Linked DNA regions of Homo sapiens: region 2 is linked to region 1. Evidence: promoter capture Hi-C in human tissues and cell types (Jung and others, 2019). All regions are on one chromosome and are shown on one strand. The core of a region is centred on a gene start or on the middle of the fragment in contact, and the rest is flanking DNA. Distances in the headings are between cores, read along the strand shown.

What was found. The method cuts DNA at HindIII sites, captures the fragments that hold promoters and counts their contacts. A contact is called where the count stands out against the background at its distance.
Region 2: a contact is called between the fragment with the promoter of TUBGCP6 here and the fragment with the promoter of SYCE3 in region 1, in 3 of the 25 tissues and cell types used here (heart left ventricle, lymphoblastoid cells and spleen).

The regions. Positions count from the first base shown.
Region 1 is chr22:50,561,315-50,564,367 of GRCh38, forward strand. SYCE3 (synaptonemal complex central element protein 3) reads right to left here and starts at 1,605. Exons shown (of 3, transcript NM_001123225.3): 1 at 1,544-1,605. LOC107985568 (a long non-coding RNA gene) reads left to right here and starts at 1,647. Exons shown (of 2, transcript XR_001755606.3): 1 at 1,647-2,253. RefSeq lists silencers at 28-226, 1,297-1,706. The HindIII fragment of the contact is 12,147 bases long and covers 1-3,053 here.
Region 2 is chr22:50,243,401-50,246,453 of GRCh38, forward strand. It overlaps TUBGCP6 (tubulin gamma complex component 6), which reads right to left and starts at 1,623. Exons shown (of 25, transcript NM_020461.4): 1 at 319-1,623. The coding sequence starts at 1,059. It overlaps HDAC10 (histone deacetylase 10), which reads right to left. Exons shown (of 20, transcript NM_032019.6): 17 at 2,898-2,976; 18 at 2,510-2,692; 19 at 2,275-2,427; 20 at 1,783-2,130. The coding sequence ends at 2,107. RefSeq lists enhancers at 212-1,142, 716-995, 1,406-1,455 and a silencer at 1,926-1,995. The HindIII fragment of the contact is 41,268 bases long and covers 1-3,053 here.

The sequences.
Region 1 (3,053 bases), core at 355-2,854:
CAGAAGAGGGATGGATCTGAAAAGGAGATCCAGGGAGAGGGTGTGAGAGCTGATGTGGAGGAAGCAGCCACAGGATTAGAATTCACGGCATTTCTTGCCTAATGAGGTTGCCTGGGATGACTGGGAACGGGTGGAGAAAGAGGCCTGAGCCCGCACCAAAGCACAATGGAACGGAGCTTAGGATGGGTGGCGGAAGTGTGGGGCGGGAGGAGCGTGGGGCGGGAGGAGTGTGGGGCGGGAGCGTGGGGCGGGAGTGTAGGGTCTGGCTTGGGTATCACTTTAGGTGTGAAGGACGGGGGTTGAGCGAGTCAGAGCCTAGAGTCTGGTTTGTGGTCTGAGTGTCTTGCCTGGTACGAAGAGTTTCTAACAGAGTCTGGGATCCCTCTGAGAACAAGGAATGTGAGGGGATAAGAGGGATGCTTGGTGCAGAGATGTGCTCTTTTGTACGGGATGAGAGCAGCACAGGAAGGGAATGCACCTGTGATGTGGGAGAGAAGTCTTGGAGTTGGGCTATGAAGAGTCTGGGCGGGTCCTGAAGTGCAGGTGGAGGAAGCCAGAGGTGCGTGTGGGAACTTGGGGTGTGAGGTGGTGTGTGGACTCCGGGGTCCCAGGTGTGGCAGGTGTGAGGGTAAGAGGGGCAGGCTGCACGGAATGAGAAGCCCAGGGTGTGCAGACTTCAGGATCAGGAGTGTATGGTGTGAGGACATGGAGATTAGGTTAAGGGGGTGAAGGACTGAGGTGAGGGATGTAAGGTGGGGAGAGTGGGGTATGGAGTGTGCAGTGAGGGGAGCGGGGGAGGGGTGAGGCGGGGTGAGGCGGGGTGAGGAGGGGTGAGGGGTGAGGCGGGGTGAGGGGTGAGGCGGGGTGAGGGGTGAGGCTGGGTGAGGAGGCGGGTGAACGGTGACGTGAGCGATGAGGGGTGAGGGGCGAGGCGGGTGAGGCGGGGTAAGGAGGGGTGAGGCGGGGTGAGGGGTGAAGGGTGAGGCGGGGTGAGGGGTGAAGGGTGAGGCGGGGTGAGGGGTGAGGGGTGAGGCGGGGTGAGGGGTGAAGGGTGAGGCGGGGTGAGGGGTGAAGGGTGAGGCGGGGTGAGGGGTGAGGCGGGGTGAGGGGTGAGGCGGGGTGAGGGGTGAGGGGTGAGGCGGGGTGAGGAGGGGTGAGGGGTGAGGGGCGAGGCGGGTGAGGCGGGGTGAGGAGGGGTGAGGGGTGAGGCGGGATGAGGGGTGAGGGGTGAGGCGGGATGAGGGGTGAGGGGTGAGGCGGGGTGAGGGGTGAGGCGGGGTGAGGGGTGAGGGGCGAGGCTGGGTGAGGAGGCGGGTGAGCGGTGACGTGAGCGATGAGGGGTGAAGGGTGAGGCGGGGTGAGGGGCGTCGGGGGAGGGGCATGGGGTGTGGAGTGAGTGGAGTCGGGTGAGTGGAGTTGGGTCGAAGTCAAGGGTCTGGCTTGAGGTTGGTGCCACCGCGAACGCTAGGACAGGGTCAGGCGGAGCCCAGCCGTCAGGGCGCGTTGGGAGGGCCGGGGCCCAGGGGGGCGCGGCCTCGCTCACCTCCAGCTTGGCCCGCGCTCCGGTCCTGCTCTGGCGCCCCCAGCGGCCGCTTGAGGAACAAGGCCGCTCCTCGAGAGGGATGCCCCGCCCTTTCCGTTAGCGAACCCTCCCCGGAAGTGACCTCTCGCCCTCATTGGGTGTCCTCGGGAAAAGGGGCGGGGCATTCCGCGCTGCTCCCACAGGTCTGCGGCGTCCGAGTCTGGGACTGGCAGGTGCGGTGCTGGGGACGTCCTGAGGTTGAGGGAGAATCCTGCGGAGATGAAGAGCTTCCCGGCCTGACAGTTTTGCCCCCACCTCCTTCTTGAGCTTAAGGATTTATACGCAGGGCCCCGTTTGCCTGCTGTGTCCCCAGTGTCCAGGACAGCGCCCGGTACCAAAGGTGCTGGTAAACATTTGTCGAATGAGTCGCTGAACGCCCAGCTATTTCCACTGTCACAGCGATCATGTGTGGCGGACATTATGTGGCATGTATCTTACAGAGGAGGCAGCCCGGGCTCAGGGAGACGAGGCAGAGGTGCACGCAGGTCTATGTGGGCTGGAAAGTGCTGGGGCCTCCCGGGCGCTCCTGGTCTCCAGGCAAGAACTGGAAGCAGAGCCACTCAACACCTAGAAGGGCAGTGACAGAAAGCTCTGGCTGGGAGGAGGCTGACCAGAGGCCAGTCTGAGCTCAGCCTTTTTTTTCAGAGGGACGTGGGCACCCTAGAAGGGTGGTAAGTAGGCGAGTGGCAGAGTTAAAAGGTCTCTGGCTGCCGAGGCGGGTGGCGACGGGGCCGGCCGTTGCTGTTGTTTGGCTGAGTGGTGGACAGGGTCAAAGCCATTCCAAGGTCGACTTGACAGGGCTTGGTAATGTGGGAGGGAGGGAGAAAGAAGCAAGGGGCTAATGGCCGGGGTGATACCACTGGCAGAGATGTGGAAGAGTGGGAGAAGCTAGCTTGGAAGGTTAACTTTGATTTTGAACACCTTGTGTTTGAGAATCCTGACAAACCTTAGACCCCCTGAATTTTCTCTCAGGGATTCTGATTCTTAGCAGCCTGATTGCAGAGGAGGAAAAATGGCTGGGGTTGAGCCAGACAGTTCTGGGCAAGGAGTGAGCATTCGCTTGTTTATTGAGGAGGCTGCTGCCTGGGCCACACTCCCTCCGCCAGCTGCCAGGTTCCTGCCCCGGTTGAACCCGGTTTTCTGGCCATCCCTTTCCACCTGTGAGCTGCTCTTCATACTTCCATTTGCTTATACAGCCCAGAGCCGATTTCTGTTACAGCAGCCCAGAGAAACATGAATAGGGAATAATTCTTTTTTTTTTTTTTTGAGACGGAGTCTTGCTCTGTTGCCCAGGCTGGAGTGCAGTGGCACGATCTCGGCTCACTGCAACCTCCGCCTCCCAGGTTCAAGTGATTCTCCTGCCTCAGCCTCCCTAGTAGCTGGGATTACAAGCACATGCCACAACGCCCAGCTAGTTTTTGTATTTTTAGTAGAGACCGGGTTTCGCTATGTTGGCCAGGCTGGTCTCGAA
Region 2 (3,053 bases), core at 373-2,872, 320 kb before region 1:
CGAGATCGCGCCACGGCACTCCAGCCTGGGCAACAGAGCAAGACTCCATCTCAAAAAAAAAAAAAAATTAAGCCGGGCGTGGTGGCAGGTGCCTGTAATTTCAGCTACTCGGGAGGCTGAGGTACGAGAATTGCTTGAGCCCAGAAAGTGGAGGTTAAGGTGAGCCAAGATCGCGCCACTGCACTCCAGCCTGGGTGACAGAGTGAGACACTGTCTCAAAAAAAAAAAAAAAAAGAAGAAGAAGAAGAAGAAGAAAGGTCACAGGAAGCATTTTCCAAACCCCGAGAGAGATGAAAGAGGAAAAACTAAACATTCTACCTTAATAGCCAGCCCAGAGAGGTCCGCATTGTCTGGCACGGGGGGCAGGCCCAGTCGGACGTCCATGTCATAAGTGCGGCTGTGCACAAGGGCCCCGAAGAGCGAGACCCGGGTGTCTCTCTCGAACCTGTCACCACAAGGGTCACCAAATGAGAAGAGCCCGACGGTGGGCAGGCCAGTGCCTGGAGCAGCCTCCATAACCTGAAGTGTTTCCTGGATCATGCTGTGACACAAACACTCTTCTCTGGAGATCAGAGACTGAACGTCCATCTCAAACACACTCAGGTCGTCGCAATCATAGCCGCTGTACGGAACGTTTCTCCCCACATGCTTGTTGTTAAGGAAGTAGTCTCGTTTTCTCGGCAGAACTTGAGGGGGACCACTCCCTGCCAGCTGAACCAGGAGGTCCAAAACAGACCCCACCTCCAAAAGCGGACAGCAAGGGGCTGCTTCCAGCTCCTCCACAAGCTCCTCCAAACGGTCGGCCTTGGGGCCCAGGCCACCCACTCTCAAGTCAAAGGACAACATGAGGATCTTGTTTCTCGCTGGTAGTTTTGACATGTCAGGCTGCAGCTGTTGAGTCTCATCTTGAAAAAGATTTGTGAAAAGAGCATTGTAGGCCACCTTCTTGAGGCTCCGCTTTGCCCTCTTCCGGTTCACACTGCGCTGGCCCAGGTGAGTCTTGGCAGCCGGCAGGAGGGCCTCACACAGGTCGTCGAACAGCTGCGTGATGCTGGCCATGCCCCTTCTCAGCTCCGGGCCCCCGGCGTGTGGGAAAACACCTCACCCGGGCTTCACTCACGCTCCGGAAGACAGGGAGTGAGAGAGGGTCCGAAGAGGCTGAATGACAGGCGGCCTCTCCAATGCCGAAGCTCAGAACTGGTATTTTTTAAAGGAGGTCTTGCGGTTGCTCTACTCAGAGTAAACACGCCCTGCCCTCCCCAGTCCAAGCACGCTGCCCGGCGCCCGGCAGCCCACCAGAAGCCAGCTCGGCGTTTCTTCTAATTCAGTAGCCCTCAACCTTTAGGGAGTCACAGAACCGTGGCAAAACCGAAGAACGAAACGCGCGCCCGCGCAGTACAGCGGACGAACTCGGCTTTGCACCCGTTCTTCGGGACCCACGAGAGGAGACGGCCAGGAGAGGGTGCCACTCCGAGGGTCGTGGGCAGCGGAGAGTCTGGGGGCTCAGCCGGGTGGGTCCCGGGTTCTGGCCTGCACGTCCACCCGTTCTCCAGGCCTCACCCGTGGAAAGTGCCCACGGCTGCCGCTCTCGCCGCCTCCGTCGCGTCACAGCCGCGCCAGTGTGAAGAGCACTAGGGCGGGCGCGCCGGAAATACGTCACGGGAACGCCGGCAGCGCGTGAAGTTGGTGAGGCCTGGGCCGCGGCATACTTCCGGCCTGAGTCCGGCACCGCGGGTGAGAGACCGAGGCCGAGCGTGCTCAGTAAAGGAGGCAGAGCCAGCGTTTCGTTTGAGCGATGTTTACTAACGGCGCAAGGGCGGGGAGCGAAGCGCAGCGGGGCGCAGGGGCCGGAACGGGACCGAGCGTGGGTTGCATGGGCCTCGATGGGACGGGCCGGGGCGCGATGGGTGGGGCGGGGGCGAGGTGAGGTGAGGGGTGGAGCGGGGGAAGCACGGGTGGGAGAGGGCGGGGCGCGGGGATTGGGAGTGGGCGGGGTTCCGTGCCCCAGAGTCGAGGGAGCCGTGGGCTTGGGGTCCGGATCGCGGCCGCGGGGCGCTGGCGTGCGGTGTCATTTCTGCGGTGTAAATGCTCCCACCTTGGCCGATTTCAAGCCACCAGGTGAGGATGGCACTACAGGAGGAGCCGAGAAGAGGCGCGCAGTTGGCCTCCGGCGCTGGAGCTGGTTCAGGGCACTCCCCTGCCCTGCCCTCCCCACCGATCTGTGCGGCAGAGCCAGGCCCCAGGGCAGGGCCATGCCTCCGCAGTCAGCCTCACCTGCAACATCTTCCACTGAGGCTCCAGCTGCCCTCTCAGGTACATCAGGGCCTGGACGTCCTCTGGGGAGGCCACAGAGGAAGGGCCTAGGCTAGGAGGTGCCTCTCCATTCAGCACCCGGGCCAGGATCCCTGCTAGCTGGGGTGTGGAGTTCTGGACCAGGGGCGAAGACGGAAGCAGTCACTGGTCCTTTCCCTCGTCCCACCCCGCAGCACCTCCACCCTGCCCAGCTTACCTCCTCCAGGAGGGCCAGGACTCGGCCCCCTGCCAGCCCCCGAAGCATTGCAGCCAGGAGTGCAGCGTGGGGGCCCTGCAGGCCATGGCCAGGCCCCAGCGCCACCAGCACCAGGTCAGGCTGGAAGCCATAGGCCAGGGGCAGCACCAAGCCCAAGATGCAGCTCAGGAAACCACCGGTCATCTGTGGGGACAGCAGAGCCCAGCTCCTCATCTACGGACACCTGCTGGCTCTGGCCTCCCAACCTCCCAATCTCAGGGCCCCTGGAGTAGGAGCAGGGAGACAGGAAGGACCAGAGGCCTGCTATCATGACAATGCCAGCAAACAGCAGCTGTACACATCCATGGGCTCCCCAGCACCTGCCTTGCCGCGTGGCATGGTCACTCACCACTGGCAGTGGCGTGGAGACATGGAACATGGATAGGGCAGCCGCCTCCTTGCCCCTGATGTTCAGCCACAGACTCCTCCTTCCAGGACACAGGTGCATAAGTGTAAGGCCCTGCTCACCCTCCTGAGCCCAAACCGCAGAGGCAGAGGTGGAAGA